Linked DNA regions of Homo sapiens: all the other regions are linked to region 3. Evidence: promoter capture Hi-C in 16 types of primary human blood cells and fetal thymus (Javierre and others, 2016). All regions are on one chromosome and are shown on one strand. Each heading gives the region's core, a stretch centred on a gene start or on the middle of the fragment in contact. The rest is flanking DNA. Distances are from core to core; before and after follow the strand shown. Region 1 overlaps ATOSA (atos homolog A). Region 2 holds the start of ARPP19 (cAMP regulated phosphoprotein 19). Region 3 holds the start of MAPK6 (mitogen-activated protein kinase 6). Region 4 has its middle 55 kb from the start of ONECUT1. Region 5 overlaps ATOSA (atos homolog A).

Region 1 (3,626 bases), core at 370-2,869, 630 kb after region 3:
AAAATTTAGCAATGTTAAAGAACAGGAATATACATAACTGATTCACACAGCATCCCTCTCATATGACAGATGACAGGAAGCTTATAGCAAAATCTGAGGCCCATCCATGTATGAGCCTTAGGGGCTGATTACTTTTTATACTCTATCTTGACTACTTCCTCAAATTTATAATTTTACTGTTCCTGGGCTTATTATAAACCTTCTCTTCAAGTCCTATGATGTCCAGAAGTCTTTCAGTGAGTAAAACTGAGGAATCCAGTGAAGAAAGAACAGAAAGATATTTCCAGTTTCTCAATAGTCCTCATGCTGTCACTTTTATAACTGAGCCTCATCACAAAGGATTATATAATAGATTCAAGTAATACTGCAAACAATTACATTTTTAAAACTTAGGTCTTTGAATTTTTGATACTATAACATCTGAAGATTAAGAAAAAAATTTACTATATACTTGCAAAAGCAATACAGTTTATGCAAAAACACTGTCGATATGTGAAAATGCCTGACAAAAAGTTGTCAAGACCAAAGTTTTGGCCCTGCTGACTATGAAAAGCAAATATTTCTTAGATTCAAACTATGAACAAGTAATGAAATTTCCGCAAGGAAGAGTCAAGGAAAAAAATGTGTCATATATCACTTAAGGCATACATATAGAAATCAAACATTTGTGATAATACCTGAAGTAGGAACGACTTAAAAAAAGATTTTCACAGAACACTTAGAGAAAAAGAAAAACTCAGATTGTTACCCCTTCCCAATCTGAGTTTTTAAGTTACATATTTTTTAAAGAACTGTAAACAGCATTATATATTATTGCCTGATTTCAAAATAATCAAAAACAATCTGTTTTACTTAAAACCAACTGTAGCAATCACTGCATCTAGTAAATACTAGCACTTCTATTTGCTATTCCTTATAAAGAGGCAAAAACAAAAAAGAAATCACTGTTTTTGAGAATTAAAGTATTTTTCCATAAGCACAAAACAATAGCCAATTTAAAGATATGACATAGACAAAGACAATAAAAATTATATTGTCAAATAATAGACAAATCCAAAAAACTGAAATATGCTAGCAATGTTATTATAACTGACTAGATTATAAACCTCAACTACCCTGAAGTTCTGCTACTGAATAGGAACTTTCAGATGCTCCAGTATATAAAACATTTTTAGGTGCTAAGCCCAGCAATAATGTCTGGAATTCTGCCAATAATATTCCTCCTGAACACAATGGCAAAGCCTCTGTGTGACACAGCAGTACACTCAACTTTCTTACAATTTCATGTTCCCCCATCTTTTGCAGCATATGAATGAGAAATAGCCTTTCTCTTGGAGGCTCTATTAATTTTTATGAAATAAACCAACATAAAATGGGTAGCAAATCAATTTAAACAAAACTTTGGTTTTTATGGTTCTATAATTAGAAAATAAAATTAGTAATTCATAAGAGTTACAGCTAAAAAATGAAAATTGCTAGATTGACTTTCATGTGGTTAGTCATATTTAACAAACTTGAGTCCTCTCTGCCTGTGTCTGCCTCTCACTCCAAACTCCCTTTCATACCCCTACCCCTTCTACACACAGCTGCTCTTCTTGAAGTGAGTGCTTTATATTGTGGAGGCCACCAAGTCCAAATAATATAACTTTATTTTGCTATAATTTTTATAACTTCTATCAAATTCAAGTTTTTGGCTGCACCTTACAAACTTGAAAATCTAAGAAATGCCAGTCTTTTAAACTTCAGCCACATGTAGGTCTACGTAAAACATTTTTTTAATCTTTAAGGACTATTTTGTAAATTTTCACCAATTATTAGACATCTTTTTAATACAAATGTTATATACATAGTATTGTTACAAAGATCAGCAAAGGGCACAAAAGCATGGGATAATATTTTGAGTTCTCTTTAAAGAAAAGAAATATCTCTCCTTACCAGAAATGCTAACACTGTTAAGACTTTCTAATGACAGGTATTTTTTGAAAAGAACAACAACAAAACCCATCCTATTCCAAACTATATAGTTTGTAGAGATAACAAAGCCCTAATATTAACTCTGAGCTTATACTGACTTTACTCATCAGACATACATCACTGAGTGAACTAAAGGCCACTTAGCCATGTAAAACGAAAAAGCAAAGGAAAAGCCGGTTATTAGCTCAATACGGATCCTTCGTAAAATGGGCAATATGCTAATTAGTCTGCTCTGCTTTAATTAAAAGAACCATTAGCTAAATCACATATGTAAACTTTAATTTCACAGTATTTGAGAAAGATACAAAAAGACCTTTTGTTTATTAAAACACTTTAAAACTTTCCTATAATCTGTTGAACAGACCAATTTTTCCAGATCCTATATAAACAAATGGTAACCTACACTCTGTTCAATTATCACATATATTATATTAGTACAGTTTAATAAGATTTGACTATATTTGAAGTATTAACTAAGTCAGATATGCAATTATTACATTTAGGAGGCCTACTTCAATTTTAAAATACTAGTTTAACCTTGTATGTTGTCTTCAAAATCCCTTATCCTTCAGTTTTCTATATGGATGTTTAATAGAACACTACACTGACTTTGCGGTTGAATTATGATGCTTTATCTGAACTGCACAGAACTAGTCAATGGATTAAATAATTAAGAGATTGCACAATTTGAGGTAGGATTTTCAGAAATGCTTTATAAAAAGATTTTGGCACACCAATTCCTTAAACTATGTCAAAAATCTCACTTAGTTAAATTCTGACAATCTTTGTCAAATTCAGAAACATGAATTCAATTAAAAATATGCAGCTTATTTAAAATACATTTGTCTTAACAGCTTTAATTTAAAAAATACCTCCTGCCCCCACATACAGTTAATGCTTCTGGCTAATGCACATTCTCTTCCCTGTATTCTCATTTCTATCACATTTTTTCCCCATTAAAGTGAGCACATTGTACTTGGTTTCTTTTCTTCCTACTCATTGTTCAGTTCAGCATTTTAATAATCTTTTCAGTACTGCTGTTCAAAGAAAACAGGCTATATGAAGCTAAAGAAAATTCTCTAAGTTCAATGGTTTTCAAAGTGAGATAATTTTCCTAGACCTATTTATTAAAAATCCATGCAAAGCAAGCACCACAGCCAACTGGTAAACAGCTACAGAAAATTGGAAGCTTAAAAATAAAGCCGTTAAAAAACACTTCACTACACACCTTCTCTGTGAAGCCCTTTGTTTCCACTGAAAACCATACTGGAATCCTTGTATAAAGGAAGTTGCCTTCTGGCTATCAATAGCTATACTATCAGTAACTGAGGGATCCAGATGTCTGCAGCGGTTAAAACAAATGTTCAGCGTTGGGTGCTGATCCCGCTTCCCTCCGTGTAAGGTTTTTCACAAAGGCAGCAGAGTAAGAGCGCACATAGCAACAGCACTCACAGCTGATTGGACAGAGGGTGTGCTCAACCTCCCCTGCTCGCTAGGTCCACTACAGCTTCCTGTCTACTTGGCAGCACTGTCATGTTTTCTTTGCTCGTCTTACAAACTCAGCTGTGTTTAGGCAACTTGAAAGGAAAGAACAGTAGACTGATAATGGCAAAGTATTCTAGCGTTTGCCCCTGAAATGTGTTTCTTCAGTT
Region 2 (4,027 bases), core at 1,101-3,600, 550 kb after region 3:
CCCAGGGCTCACGCCCCGCGCGCTCACCTTCTGCTCCTCCGCGGAGGCTGCCTCGGGGACTTCCGCAGACATAGTGCTCCCTCTGCAGACGAGACGCCGGGAAAAGATGCAATTAGCGGGTGGCCGAGGCCACCCGGCCGCCGCCCGTCCCAGCTCTCCCAGGGCCCGCCGGGCCGCCTCCGCCCGCGAAAATGGCCGCCGCCTTATGACGACACGGAGCCGCGAAACGCTCCGCTGGCCAAGGCCCTCGCACGCCGGAGCCCGCCTGCCCCTCCCGCACCGCACCCCTACCTACTTGACCCCGCTTCTCCCGCTCGCTGTCGTCCAAACACTTCCTTTTTTCCTTCAAAGGTCGCCGCTCCTGCCTCACCTCACATCCGTTTGTGGCTGCCGAGTGCTTCCTGGGAATTGTAGTTTCTAAGTGGAACCGCCCCTCCCCGCCCTTTCCTGTCCACTCTGGTCCCCTCGTTCTAGGAGCTTTATTTTACTCTTTCCACTTACCCATCCTCGCCTAGTTCTGTTCTCCTCGCTCTCCGCTCTGTAGCCACACAGGCTGTCTTTTGGGCACGCCAAAAGTCTTGCTCCACTCTGCCACGCCTTCACATCTCCAGTCCTACGTCTCTGCCTCAGAACCTTTCCTTCCTAAACCTCTACACTAGGCCAGAGCCACCTCTTAAAGGCTGTCACAGCCCTGTACAGTTCCTCAACAACATGAACTGTATCATTACACAATTGTCGTGACTTTAGGTCACCTTTCCTTCTCAGATAAGCCGCACCAGGGCAGGGATCTCGTCTGTAATTACTTATATTTTACTCTGAGGGTCCAGCACTTCCTAGATATCTAACGAAGGAATTCAGATTCATTTGTCCACTCCCAGGGGGTCCACTCCCACAAGCTTACCGAAACTGCTAGCATTGAGCTCCCCCAATGACCTTTTTATTTGCCAAGTCCTGCGGCTTCTTACTGAATCCTCATTCTACTTGATATCTGAATAGTTACTCGCAATGTTTGTTGGTTCCAACAAAGTGTCCCTCAGAAACTTGGAAATAAGATTGCCCTCTAAAAGTTAAACTAGTAAAAAGCCACAGAAAATGAATGCATTTCTGGGGGCAGGGGAACAATTGAAAGACCCTAAATGCCTGGATAAGGAATTTGGAAACCATCGAAACTCAACCAGGATGTAGAATCTCAGACAGGAAGAATTGCACTGGAATTGCAACTAGAAAAACAAAAAGAGTTAATATTGCACTCCTTTTGGAGAAACGAAGGAAGGCATTTGTCAGCCAAGGAAGTATTGAAAATAAAAGGGTTCAACAGGCCAACTGTTTGACAAAGATATCCCTTAAGAATGTCTCACGCTGGGCTAGCTGAGAAACTGTAAGATCCACGACATATTTGTTCTCCTTCTATACTCACAAAGTAACATACTGAAAATTTGCCTTTCCCTTAAGCAGAACTGCAGAGAGAAAGAAGAGTGCAGTAGTTAGGCCACTGAAGCATTTAACAGTTGTATTTTTATTAATAAATTGACTGACGTTCTAGTATATGTCCTATATCAATGTATTTGTGAACTTGAGTTAAAATCTGATAGACATACACTTAATGATGAAACTCAGCCTCAAGAAAATTGGCTGTGGCTGGGCACAGTGGCTCACTCGTAATCCCAGCACTTTGGGAGGCCAAGGCGGGCAAATCGCTCGAGCTCAGGAGTTCAAGACCAGCCTGGCCAACATGGCAAATCTCTGTCTCTACAAAAAGAAAAAAAACTTTTTTTTCTTTTTCTTTTTGAGACAGAGTCTCAACTCTGTCACCCAGGCTGGAGTGCAATGGCACAATCTCGGCTCACTGCAACCTCCACTTCCTGGGTTCAAGCAATTCTCCTGCCTCTGCCTCCCAAGTAGCTGGGATTACAGTTGCCCACCACCACACCCTGATAATTTTTTGTATTTTTAGTAGAGACAGGGTTTTGCCGTGTTGTCCAGGCTGGTCTCGAACTCCCGGCCTCAAGTGATCCACCCGCCTCGGCCTCCCAAAGTGCTGGGATTATAGGAGCGAGCCACCACATCTGGCCTTTTTTTTAAAATTGGCTATGTGACCTTGGATAAAAAGAATCTGTTTCTGATAGTGACACTCGCAGAAGGGGAAGTTTGAATTTCTGGGGGCAGACTTTGGTCAAATGGAGAATTCACCATGGGCAATGCTCCACAATGAGGACCTGTCTGGAAAGCCATTCTTTCCCAACTAACACCACTCTGCATCATTATGAACCTTAATGTGTAAAACTGCACACTGGTCCCCAGCACCCTGTTTGTCAAAACTTCCTTCTCTTGATCTCCAGGATACTATTGTCTCATGGATTTCCTCCTACTTAACCTCCCTGTTGAATCTTAACCTGCCTCTTAATGGGAGGATTCTAACAGTTCTGTCCTTGGATCTCCTTCTCTTCTATGTTTACACAGCCTCCAGGAAATAACTTCCACCTTCATAGTTTTTTTTCTTTTTTGAAACAAAGTGTCACTCTGCCACCCAGGCTGGGGTGCAGTGGCACCATCTCAGCTCACTGCAATCTGCCTTCTAGGTTCAAGTGATTCTCCTGCCTCAGCTTCCCAAGTAGCTGGGACCACAGGCACATGCCACCATGCCCGGCTAATTTTTGTATTTTTAATAATTGTAGGCCTGGCACGGTGGCTCACACCTGTAATCCCAGCACTTTGGGAGGCCGAGGCGGGTGGATCACTTGAGGTCAGGAGTTCGAGACCAGCCTGGCCAACGTGGTAAAACCATCTCTACTAAAAATACAAAAATCAGCTGGGCATGGTGGTGGGCACCTGTAATCCCAGCTACTTGGGAGGCTGAGGCAGGAGAATTGCTCAAACCTAGGAGATGGAGGTTGTAGTGAGCTGAGATCATATCACTGCACTCCAGCCTGGGCAACAAGAGCAAAACTGTTTCAAATAATAATAATAATAATTTGTAAAGACGGGGTGTTGCTATGTTGGCCAGGCTGGTCTCAAACTCCTGGCCTCAAGTGCTCGGCCTGCCTCGGCCTCCCAAAGTGCTAGGATTACAGACTTGAGCCACTGCGCCCGGTGGACATTCATAGTCTAAACTGCCATCTAGGGATACCTTGTTTTTTGGGGCTTCATTTTATTGTACTTCTAGATACTGCATTTTTCACAAATTGAAGGTTTGTGGCAATCCTGCATCCAGCCTCTATAGGCGCCATTTCTCCAACACCATGTGCTTACTTTGTGATCGTGTGTAACATTTGGGTAATTCTTGCAATATTTCAAACGTTTTCATTATTATTATATCTATTATAGTGATCTGTAATCAGTTATCTTTGACATTACTATTGTAATTTTGGGGGAGTACCACAAACCACTCCCACATAAGACAGTGAACTTAACCAATAAATGTGTATGCTCTGACTGCTGTACCAACCAGCATTCCCCTGTCTCTCTCTCCTTGGGCTTCCCTATACCCTGAGACACAACGATATTGAAATTAGGCCAAATTATAACCCTACAATGGCCTCTAAGTGTTCAAGTGAAAGGAAGAGTTGCATATCTCTTCCTTTAAATCAAAAGCTAGAAATGGCCAGGTGCGGTGGCTCATGCCTGTAATCCCAGCATTTTGAGAGGCTGGGGCTGGTGGATTGCTTGAGCCCAGGAGTTTGAAACCAGCCTTGGCAATATGGTAAACTTCGTCTCTACCAAAAATACAAAAATTAGCCAGTCTCATAACCCGGTCTCTAAATAAACAAATAAATAGATTAAACATTTTTAAAAAGCTGGAAATGATTAAGCTTCGTGAGGAAGGCATGTCAAAAGCTGAGACAGCCAAAAACTAGGCCTTTTGTGACGAAGAGTTAGCCAAGTTATGAATGCAAAGGAAAGTTATTGAAGGAAATTAAAAGTGCTACTCCTGTGAACACATGAATGATATGAAAACGAGACAGTCTTATCGCTGATATGGTCCAAGTTTTAGTGATCTGTATAGGAGAGCAAACCAGCCACAACACTC
Region 3 (3,814 bases), core at 808-3,307:
CAGGCTTTGTGTGAAAAACAAGGCTGTTTATTTCACCTGGGTGCAGGCGGGCTGAGTCTGAAAAAGGAGTCAGCAAAGGGTGGTGGATTATCATTAGTTCTTACAGGTTTTGGGATAGGCAGTGGAGTTAAGAGCAATGGTTTGGGGGCAGGGGGTGGATCTCACAAAGTACATTCTCAAGGGTGGGGAGAGTTACAAGGAATCTTCTTAAGGATGGGGGAGATTATAAAGAACCTTCTTAAGGGTGGGGGAGATTACAAAGTACACTGATCAGTTAGGTTGGGGCAGAAATAAATCACAATGATGGAATGTCATCAGTTAAGGCTATTTTCATTTTTTTTGTGGATCTTCAGTTGCTTCAGGTCATCTGGATGTATATGTGCAGGTCACTGGGGATACGATGGCTTAGCTTGGGCTCAGAGGCCTGACACCCTTTTGAAATGCTACAAAGATTCTGTCAATTTAGTGGTCTCCCTTACTATTGTAAGCCAACTTTGCATTATCCACAGGAAGTCAGCAGTGACACTGGATTAAATGCTCCTTGAGGGAAGGCACAGTGCTTGGTATTTATTCTCCCACCTTCTCTGGGTGATCAGACATTGATGGAAAAGGAAGGTAAACGAGTTCTCAAAGAGTGAGAGGAAAAATGTCCTGAGGATCAGAGGAGAGCCTAGAGCAGAGGCAGTGGGGCTGAAGGTACGAGCTCTCGTTGCAGAAGCTGGAAATTCTGCGGTTGGAACAAGTCTCCCCTTTCTCTTGGTTTTTTTCACTCATTACCTCTTCTTCACACCTGGTACTCAGCTGACGTTGTTTTAAATATTAAAAAATATAAAGCATTCAAGCTCACCCCAACCACTTAACTTCATTACTCTGTGATTTTTTTTTTTGAGACAGAGTTTCGCCCTTTCGCCCAGGCTGGAGTGTCCTGGCGCGATCTCGGCTCACTGCAACCCCCCGCGGGGTTCAAGCTATTCTCCTGCCTCAGCCTCCCGAGTAGCTGGGATTACAGGTGTGAGCCACCACACCCGGCTACTTTTTGTATTTTTAGTGGAGACGGGGCTTTCACCATGTTGGCCATGCTGGTCTCGAACTCCTGGCCTCAGGTGATCTGCCCGTCTCGGCCTCCCAAAGTGCTAGGATTACAGGCGTGAACCACCACGCCTGGCCCTTTGTGATCTTTTTGAAGTGGTCTTTGCCTCTTTCTTGAAGATGCCCATAATAATGACTAGAAGGGCTATTCTATGTCTGGTTCTCAGCAAGATGGTGATGAAGTCATTGAAAAAATATGCTGACCTGCGTCTCTAATTTCATAAATACTTAAATTTCACATAAACACTGAAAAGGCTCCTTGGACTCAATAAGCCATGATAAGTAATGTAAGTTTGCTTTTAGCCAAGTGGGCCCAAGAAGGCACCCATCCACCTTTCTACGTTTCATAGTGCATCCCTTCCCAAATTCAAATTGTCCTATCCCAGTTCCTGCAACAAGCCAGGTACTCTGGCCTCCCAGTCTTTGCTCACAGAAACACCCTCCCCACCTCCTGGTTATATCCGCTCCTCCGGGATCCAGCTGAAAGGCCACCTTGGCGACCACTCCTGAAAGCCTTCCTCCATACTCTGGCAGAATGAATGACCTTAGTATTGGCCTCTAACGCGTCTGTCTTGTGCTCGGGCTGTCGCCTTCCAGCCAATCCATCTTAAGGTCCACCCTTCCTGGAGACTGAGGCCTCTTCCTCTCGGATTGCCCAGTGCCTTGCACGTAGTAGGTGCTTAGTAAACGCTGGCACTGGGTTTGGTCACTTTGTTCCCTTAATGCCAGGGCAGGTAGTAGAGCAAACGGCCCCAGCTGTCTTCCTCCCTGCCCGCCCGCAGGCAAAGCCCCCAGGAGACGCCGGACGAGCCGCGTGCCTTTCCCACCGCCTCCGCGGCGCGCGCAGCCCAGTCACGGGCGCTGGAAATTCCGGCGCGTGCGGGTGCGCTGGGCAGGGCGGGGGCGGGAGAACCCGTGGAGTGAGCCTGTGACGTGAGGGGGCGTGGCACCGCGAAGCCCCGCCCCCTCTTCCTCGCCCTCTCTCGCGGGTCGGGGTTACATGGCGGCGACTGCGGCAAAGCGAGAGCCTCGGAGACGCCGCTGCCGCCAGCACAGCCGGAGACCTGAGCCGACACTGGGGGCAGTCCGCGAGCCCCGCACTCTCTCGATGAGTCGGAGAAGTCCCGTGAGTGTGTGTGTGTACGTGTGCGGGGTGCGCCGGCGGGGCGGCTCGGGAGGGCGCCGCGGCGGGCCCGGCGGCGGCGGCGGCGGCGGCGACGGCGGAGCCGGCTCCCTCCTCCATTGTGTGTGACCCTCCGGCGGCTGCCGCTCAACAAAGGCGTTTTTGTTCGGTCTGCCGCCCGCCCCCTGCTCGCCCGCCTGCCCGCCCGCTCGGGCCTGGCCGGCGCGTCCCCGCGCGGGCGGGCGGGCGGCGGGCTGGGGTCCCCGCGTGGGGCCGGCCAGGCGGCCAGCGCGCCCCTCCCACCCGGCACGCCCCTCGCCGGTCGCCCTGCCAGGCCGCGCCCGCTCCCTGGCCCCGCACGCCTGCTGCCGTCCCGCCGCCTGCGCCTGGCTCCGCGGGTTCGAAACCCAGCCGGACCGGACCGGAGGGCGGGCGAGCGAGGGGCGGCGGCCCGGGGAACATGAGGTGGCGTGGAGTCTCGCCTTACTGGCACGCTGCCTTTCGAAATGCTCCCGCGTCTCCTCCCCCATCCCACCCGGTGACTCGGCCTCAGCTGACTCCGGCCGGGCAAAGTCTCCAGTGGCGTAGCGCGCAGCGCTCACCCGGCTCGTCTCAGAGCCCTGAAGTCCGCCCAAGTTTTGAGTCTTGCCATGAATGAGGTACTGAAAACTCGGAGACGAAATTCCTAATTTCCTCCCTCGGCCCTACAGTCTTTCCTTAGCTTCTTTCGGGACCTTAAGTGGTGGTCTGTAAAAGTGCCCAAATGAAAGCTTGTTTTGTCGGTTCACCAAAAAGGGCCTTGTCACTTTGCTGTGCATTTTAGTCCGCCTTGTGAGTTGTGTCGAAAAGTAAAGGTGTTTTGGCATCCTTTTGTTTCTTGGCGAGTGTAGGACCCAACCGGTTTAGGTGTTAGGGGGATCTCTGTGCAGCGGGAGCTTCTTGATTCCTTTCCTGTTTTATTTTTTCTTTTGCTTGTTCATTGGAAAAGGTCCAGTGAAAGGGACTGGTGAGTTGGAATTAGAAGCCTACTTGTATTAACGGCAGAATTCGTGTTCATTGCTAAAGATGCAGTCTCAGTAATGACTTTTTTTTTTTTAACGGATACAGATGATTTGTCAAGGGGAAAAATTAACACGCCATACAATGAAGAGCAAGCAGCTTCAGAGTAATTTTCTGATGGCTGATTCTTCTAGCCTGTCTCTTACAGTTCCAATTGCACATGTCCTCCCTCTTTAACGCTGGAAAACTGAGATGGAAAGAATGATCTGACCAGAAGAATGTAGGGTCCAAACAGGGCCTGGCCCTGAAATCAGGAATTTCTTCATAGAAATATCAGATTTTAATGTTTAAAAAATAATTTTGAATTGGGTGAAAGGAACTTTGTCTTTAGATAGTAGTTGTTCAAACATGTTTATGAAGTGTTTGCTATGTGCCAGGGATTGTAAAGTCATTTCACATATGTTACATCATTTATTAAGAATTGCCTTAAGCTTGTAAAATTATTCATTGATGTCCTGAATTCAGTAATTGCAGTTAATCTAGAAAATATGCCAGATTTGAGCAGAACATATTTGATCACCTAGGTATTACTGTTGAGAAGAA
Region 4 (3,508 bases), core at 708-3,207, 720 kb after region 3:
CAAGTGGCTGCTCTGCTGAGTGGGCTGGGAGGAGGTGCAGCCTGCTGGGCAGTGAGCGTTGACTGAGTATTTTGATAGCACTGGGGAGCTCTCTGAGCAGGCACCACCATGCCCATCTGTCCATTAGCAGTAGGCTATGGATTAGGAGTGGTAGAAAGGATATCTTTAAATAGATTTCTTTGTTTGTTTGTTTGGTTTGAGGCCTAGTGATTGAGGTCACTCTGGGAAAAGCTTCAGGAAGCTCTGGTCAGAAACTTTGGGTTTTACATTTCACAACAATTATCCTTCCACTGGGGAAAAGAAAAGGTTAGTTAGGTGGGGTAGAGAAATGAGGACCAGAAGTTCCCCGCCTAGGAAAATCAGAATATGAAACATTATTGAAATACATATTAATATTTCATATGTCTTAGTCATGGCTGGGAGGGTTCAGCCTAATTGGCAAACTCAGCTTTATCAGGGAATCCTTGGTATCTGCTGCTGAAATGCAACTCAGATCCTTGTCACCTTTGAGCCTGTCCTTCACAGATAAAAGACATGAGTTTGGAATGGGTTTCTGCACTGTGGAAGGGGGAATAGACTTACTCAACGTCTTGGCTTTAAGTCCTAGCTCTGGTACTTGTTAATCTTGGTATTTTAAATAAGTCTCTTGGCAGGCACGGTGGCTTATGCTTGTAATCCAGCACTTTAGGAGGCCAAGGTGGGAGATCCCTTGAGCCTGGGAGTTGGAGACTAGCCTGGGCAACTTAGTGAGACCATTTCTACAAAAAACTTTAAAATCAGTTGGGCGTGGTGGTGCACACCTGTAGTCCCAGCTAACTCGAGAGGATAGCTTGAGTCCAGAAGGTCAAGGTTGCAGTGAGCTATGATCACACCACTGCACTCCAGCCTGGGTGACCAAACAAACAAACAAACAGAAAAAAACAACAAAAACAAGTTTCTTGACCTCCCCGGGGCTCAGCAACTAACAGATAACTGAGATAACTGTGGTCAGGTATAGGCTCGGGCAACTGCACATGGTGAGCAGATTTTGGGTTTGTGAGAGAAGACAGAAGAGAATTGAGTGGAGCTCCTCCCAGGCCCGCAACAAAAAATTATAAATTTGGAGGCTGGGCATGGTGGCACACACCTGTATTCCTAGCTACCTGGGAGGCTTAGGCAGGAGGATTGCTTGTGCTCAGTAGTTTGAGGTTGCAGAGAGCTGTGATCACACCACTGCATTCCAGCCTGGGTGACAGAGCAAGATCGTCTCCAAATACATACATAGATATGTACACAAATACATAATTTGGCTATAGTTTTATTTTTAAAATATGTTTTAAATGATGGAACTTCCTATACTAGCATATAATTTATAATTTCTTTGTAATTCATTTTTTTGAAAGTGTGAAACATTTGCAAGTCACCCTTTATTCTTCTTTCACCAGTGTGGTATTAATCACCCAGTGATTACCCAGAAGTAATGCTTAGGGCTCCTTCCTGATGCCCCAGGCTAGGGGAAAGCGTAGGGGATAGGGTGGGGATGGGGTAGGGGCAGGTAATTTTGCCTCCAAGCCTTACATCACTGTTTACAAGTTCATTCCTCCCTGCCTCATCATGTAAATCCCCATAAAAATGGCATCTCCCTATAGTGACTGTCCATCAAATAATGACTTTGTCACCTTCTGCTCCTGTGTTCTGGATATCTCATTGTTTTACCTCCCTCTCTTTATGCTCCCTTTTCCCCTGGGTTTTGCTGATGGTAAACTGGTCAAGTGCTGCCACCTACTGGCCAAAATGTATATTACTAAAGAGCTGTGGTCTGGAAAAGGTTAAGGCCCAAGGTGCCTGTGTTACAAATGACTGGATTGCGGCTTTTCACATAATTTTGTTAGCAACCTATCAGCAAAGAAAGAGTTCACAACTGTGCTTTCAGGGAAAAACGAATTTTGACATAGTTGTTTAATGAGTGTTAAAACTTTTTATGTTGAAATAGTTTTAGATTTACAGAAAAGTTGTACAAATGGTACAAGAAGTTCTGCTTGGCCTTTACTCAGGGTTCCCTAATATTAACATTCCTAAGAGTAACTGCAGGACAATAATTGAAACCAGGAAATGGACATTTGTACAATACCGTTAATTACTCCACAGATATAATTTGAAGTTTGCCAGCTTTCTCACTAATGCTCTTTTTCTTGTCCAGGATCCAATGATTCATTATCTTCTATTATATTTATTTGTCTTGTCTCCTGGACTCCTCTAATCTGTGATAGCTCCTCCATCTTTCTTGACCTTCACACTTTATTTTTTTTATTTTTTATTTTTATTTTTGAGACAGGGTCACCCAGGCTGGAGTGCAGTGGCGCGACCATCAGGGCTCACTGCAGCCTCGACCTCCTGGGGTCAGGAACTCCTCCCACCTCAGCCTCGTGAGTAGCTGGGACCACAGGTGCGTGCCACCACACCTAGTGATATGGTTTGGTTCTGTGTCCCCACCCAAATCTCATCTCAAATTGTAATCCCCATAATCCCCAAGTGTTGAGAGAGGGACCGGGTGGGAGGTGATTGGATCACGGGGATGGTTTCCCCCATGCTGTTCTCGGGATAGTGAGTGAGTTCTTACAAGATCTGATGGTTTTATAAGGCAGTTTTCCCTTGCTGGCTCTCCCCTGCCTGCCACCATGTAAGATGTGTTTGCTTCCCGTTCTGCCATGATTGTAAGTTTCCTGAGGCCTCCCTAGCATTGGGGAACTGTGAGTCAATTAAACCTCCTTTGTTTATAAATTACTCAGTCTCGGGTACTATCTTTACAGCAGTGTGAGAATGGACTAACACACCTGGCTAATATATATATATATATATATATATATATATACATATATATATTACATATAAAACCCTGTCCCCACTATATATAGTATATATAGTGTGTATATATATATAGTATATACATAGTGTATATATATACAATATATATAAAACCCTATCCCCACTACATATATAGGTTTTTTTTTTTTATGTTGCCCAGGCTGGTTTTGAACTCCTGGGTTCAAGCCATCTGCCTGTCTCGGCCTCCCAAAGTGCTGGGATTACAGGATTACAGGTGTGAGCCACTGCACCCGACGACCTTCACATTTTTGAAGAGTAATGGTCAATTATCTTGTAAAATGTCCCTCAGTTTGTCCGCTATTTTCTCATGATTAGGTTGAGGTAATCTGTCTTTGTCGAGAATACTGCCATGTTCTTAGTGCATCATATGAGGGGATGCATGATGTTGATACGTCTTATTTATTAGTAGTGATGCTAACTTTCATCTCTTGGTTAAGAAGGGGGGAACTGTCAAGTTCCTCCTGGTTAAATTGCTATTTTTCCTTCACAATTAATAAGTATTGCAGGAAAATGCTTTGAGATTATGCAAATATCCTATATCTTACCATACTTTACCTATTGACTTTAGAATTTCTAGATGGTTCTTGCCTGCAGCAATTATTAATGCGGTATTCGTTTGCATAGTTGTGATTACCTATTTTCA
Region 5 (3,971 bases), core at 446-2,945, 610 kb after region 3:
AAGAGCAGTTTTAAGTTTACAGCAAAACTGAGTGGCAAGTAGAGATTATACCCCCTCCCCAATACCTGTGTGGCCTCCTCGATTATGAACAACCTCAAAAGAGTGGTATATTTGTTACACTTGATGAACCTACACTGACACATCATAATCACTCAAAGTCCATAGTTTATCTTGGGGTTCACTCAGGATGTCATACATTTTCTGGGTTTGGAAAAATGTTAATGACATGTATCCACCATGAGAGTATCATACGGAATCCTTTCATGCCCTAAAAATCCTCAGTGGAGGTAAGGGTAGTTAAAAAAAAAAAAAAAGGCCAGGCATCGTGGCTCATGCCTGTAATCCCAGCACTTTGGCAGGCTGAGGAGGGCACATCATGAGCTCAGGAGTTCGAGACTAGCCTGGCCAACATGGTGAAATCCTGTCTCTACTAAAAATACAAAAATTATCTGGGCCTGATGGCGGGCACCTGTAATCTCTGCTACTCGAGAGGCTGAGGCAGCAGAATCGCTTGAACCCGGGAGGCAGAGGTTGCAGTGAGCTGAGATTGTGCCACTGCACTCCAGCCTGGGCAACAGAGCAAGACTCCATCTAAAAAAAATTAAAAAATAAAAAAAAAGAAAAGACTAGAAGGATAAGTAATTAAGAATTGAAATCAAAATGAAGACAGAATTGGGGAAGCAGCAGGGAGAAACAAAACAAATGAAGTAGAAACAATATACAGCAGGAAAATAAGACAAAAAACAAAAAATATTTGTATACAATAGAGTAAAATTAGAGCTAGAGGAAGTTCAACAGGTTAGGGCAGGACGTTGGTGGTGGTGGGGTACCTAAGGAAAGTCATTACTGTACTTTTGTTTCCTGTGTGTTCTGAACAAGTTCTTTTCCCAGACTCCCATCTTTCAAACATCCCAAAGTAGGCCTCCCTGTATTCCTCACATGTGTTCTACTAGCACTCCTATAAATATAGCTTAAAAGTAGCCCCAAATTTCTAAAAACTAATGTTCTACAACTTTGTTTCCCAAGTTGGTTGTTGAAAGTTCAGAGTTACTTGTCTTTATTAAACCACAGGCATTACGAAGGTTCCTATGGACTAAGGAAGATGAAGTGCTACACCAAAGGCACCACAGAGACTGAGAAGACATGCCAAAAACAAAGAAAATATTTGCAATGCAAATGCTGACAAAAGATGAATATCTAGAATATTTCACCTAAGAATCCTGAAAGGTTAATGAATATAAGATGTAGAACTCCTTAATCATTGCAAAATACAAATTAAAACTACAATTACATATGATTTCACATTCAAAGGATTGTGCAGGAAAATTGACTAAATATTGCTAAAGGTATAGAGCAACAGAAGTGGTCATACACTGCTAGTAAAGGTACACACTGGTGCAAACACTTTCAAAAATAACCTGGCATTACCTAGTTAAGAAGTACATACTCTACAACTCAATTACTCTCCTAGGTAAATAACCTAGAGAAAATCTTGTACATGTATGCTAGGAGACTAATATAAGAATGTTCAAAGAAGCACTGTCTATAACAACAAAATTTTGGAAAAAACAAGTGTTTATCGTCCATAGAATGAATGCTGTGATACACTCATATAATGGGATACAGGAGTAAACGTAAGTACAAGAATAATAACCTACAGCTACATACAGGTTGTAGAACACTATAGGATGATTCTATTTGCATAAAAGTTTAAAAAACAAGCTAAACAACATAGTTTATGGTTATATATGTGATAAAATATTTTAAAAGAGACAACACAGAATTCAGAACAGTGGATATTTTGGGGATGTACCTGAGGAGAGGAACACAGGAGTCAGCACACAAGGTTCTGCTTCTCAAGCTGAGTAGCAACTGCATGGGAGGTCATTTTGCTGTTCTCTAAACCATCTTTAATGTATATGCTCTTTGTAGCTATGATATGCTTCATAATTTTAAAAAATTCACATTGTCTCATGTATGACAAAATAAACCTGTTTTTAAAATTTCAGCATGTATGTGGAAAACTGAAGTCTGGGAATTCTGCACATCTCACTCTTGCCTAGGTCTCACTGTTTGTAAGGTGGTACTAGTTAGTGAAAAATAAGCACTGTGCTGGATTTCATGAGGTCCACATTCTCCCATATTAACCTCTTTTGTTCTAGGTTACTTTAACTATCAAAGTACACCACTTCTTAAAAAAAGTCTTCCAACTTTAAGATTTTATGAGTTGATGAAAATATTAAGGTGAAGAATTATGGTATAAAGGGAAAAAAGACAATATTCAACTTACAATATTGTTCAACTTTCCAAAGGATACAGAGCTGATAAATCCAAGTAATAGGACAAACACCTACGCCTATGTGTTATGGCAAATTAGTTTGCCATATATATATAATTTCTAGAATGCATTTTACATTTTTTAATGTAAGAAACAAGTTTTAAAGCAAGCAACATATCTCGAATTTAACACTCAAACTGAAAGCTACTGACGAAAAGTTAGATTTCCTCGTTGGCTGGACAAATAACTAAAGTGTTCTAAAACACAATGCTAACCCAAGAAATTGCATGGTTCAAAGTGTGTTTTGAAATTGAATAGGCAGTCCCATTGTAACCTCAAACTCCTGGACTCAAGTGATCCTTCTACCTCAGGCTCCCAAGTAGCTAGGACTACAGGAATGCGCCATCATGCCCAGCTATTTTTTTAAACTTTTCTGTAGAGACAGGAGCCTTGCTATGTTACCCAAGTTGGTCTCAAACTCCTGGCCTCAAGCGATCCTCCAGCTTCAGCCTCCCAAAGTGCTGGGATTACAGGTGTAGGCTGACAGTGCTGGGATTACATTGCACCTGACCAGACAGTATTTCTTAAATAAGTTTTCCTTCATTATAGGAAGGTAGCTGTATACCCATTAACTAAAAACATCTTAAAGTGGAAAAGACTAATTTCATCTGAATTTTAGTTCATGATACTGTTCAAAAGTTACAGTGCCTCAATTTAGTGAACATAAAATATTGACTACAACTTAAGCAAGTAGTTCTCTTAATCCTTATTTCTCTAGTAAGAGATGATCTATTGCTTGAGAACCATGTTGCTTATAATAATTTCTTCTGTTGGTTTAAATAAATAATACCATAAAAGTTAATTTTATTAAGGGTTAAATAAGATTCCAAAATTATAACTAATTTTAAACCTGAAATACTGAAATCTGATACTTTTCTATGGAACTGTGATGGTGAAACAGTGTAGCATAATTAGGAGAAAAGAATAGGCTTTTTGATCAAGTAGGCATAAATCCAAATACTGAGTAACTCTGGGAAAGGTGAAATAATAATTCTTACCCCTAAGAAATGTATGAGGAAAAAGGACTCTGCCCTTTGATTTTTGGCACACTTTGCTATGATAGGAATTATTAATTAGTTTTCGGTTAGTATTTGACCTTTAAATAGCAAGCCCAGTGTAGTTGACAAGTATATTTTAAAAATGACTATAAACATACTTCTCCATATGGTCAGAAGACATTCTTAGCAAAGATTTTATACAAAGGACCAGAATATAAATTATGAAATTATTGATTTCATGAAGTATTTCATTCATAATGTATTTTATTCAAGGAATGCCATGAAGCATAAAATCTTCCCCCTTTAAGAAATGAAATGGGATTATATATAACATAACTGATGGCCAAGGAAAAGTGATAACTAAAATTCATGCAAAGATTTGAAAATAAAATTGTCCTTTAATAACTGTTTTGTAACTGCAGTAAGTAAAACATTCACTGTAGAATTCAATTTTACAAAGAAGGGAGTAAGATCTAGTAAGTCCAATCAGAGCAAGTACAGGCATGTTACTTCATTTCTTCATTTATGAAATGGGAATGATATGTATTAGGGGAGAAGGGAAGCTTTTCTCTTTACTCAGGTTGGGCCTGTATACATAGAGAGGACAGGACTTTACCATAAGCCTTATCTTCCTA

What was found. The method cuts DNA at HindIII sites, captures the fragments that hold promoters and counts their contacts. A CHiCAGO score of 5 or more calls a contact.
Region 1: a fragment that was not itself captured here is called in contact with the fragment with the promoter of MAPK6 in region 3 in 3 of 17 cell types (fetal thymus, total CD8 T cells and erythroblasts); the score reaches 7.2 in fetal thymus.
Region 2: a contact is called between a fragment that was not itself captured here and the fragment with the promoter of MAPK6 in region 3, in 6 of 17 cell types (naive CD8 T cells, naive CD4 T cells, fetal thymus and 3 more). The highest score is 9.1, in naive CD8 T cells.
Region 4: a fragment that was not itself captured here is called in contact with the fragment with the promoter of MAPK6 in region 3 in 1 of 17 cell types (total CD4 T cells); the score reaches 5.5 in total CD4 T cells.
Region 5: a fragment that was not itself captured here is called in contact with the fragment with the promoter of MAPK6 in region 3 in 1 of 17 cell types (total CD4 T cells); the score reaches 6.8 in total CD4 T cells.

Annotation. Positions count from the first base shown.
Region 1 is chr15:52,648,668-52,652,293 of GRCh38, forward strand. The region is part of intron 2 of ATOSA (atos homolog A); the gene reads right to left. Among named protein-coding and RNA genes, the nearest start is that of ATOSA, 29 kb to the right of the region's middle. The HindIII fragment of the contact is 3,083 bases long and covers 79-3,161 here.
Region 2 is chr15:52,568,821-52,572,847 of GRCh38, forward strand. It overlaps ARPP19 (cAMP regulated phosphoprotein 19), which reads right to left and starts at 210. Exons shown (of 3, transcript NM_006628.6): 1 at 28-210. The coding sequence starts at 72. RefSeq lists enhancers at 1-556, 610-739 and silencers at 1-9, 80-139. The HindIII fragment of the contact is 2,913 bases long and covers 895-3,807 here.
Region 3 is chr15:52,017,162-52,020,975 of GRCh38, forward strand. It overlaps MAPK6 (mitogen-activated protein kinase 6), which reads left to right and starts at 2,058. Exons shown (of 6, transcript NM_002748.4): 1 at 2,058-2,215. It overlaps MAPK6-DT (MAPK6 divergent transcript), which reads right to left and starts at 1,934. Exons shown (of 2, transcript NR_156732.1): 1 at 1,538-1,934. RefSeq lists enhancers at 1,659-1,728, 3,069-3,118 and silencers at 1,899-2,008, 2,309-2,818. The HindIII fragment of the contact is 8,244 bases long and covers 1-2,980 here.
Region 4 is chr15:52,733,915-52,737,422 of GRCh38, forward strand. No RefSeq gene overlaps it. Among named protein-coding and RNA genes, the nearest start is that of ONECUT1, 55 kb to the right of the region's middle. The HindIII fragment of the contact is 3,457 bases long and covers 230-3,508 here.
Region 5 is chr15:52,629,208-52,633,178 of GRCh38, forward strand. All of the region lies in intron 2 of ATOSA (atos homolog A), which reads right to left. Among named protein-coding and RNA genes, the nearest start is that of ATOSA, 48 kb to the right of the region's middle. The HindIII fragment of the contact is 4,403 bases long and covers 1-3,897 here.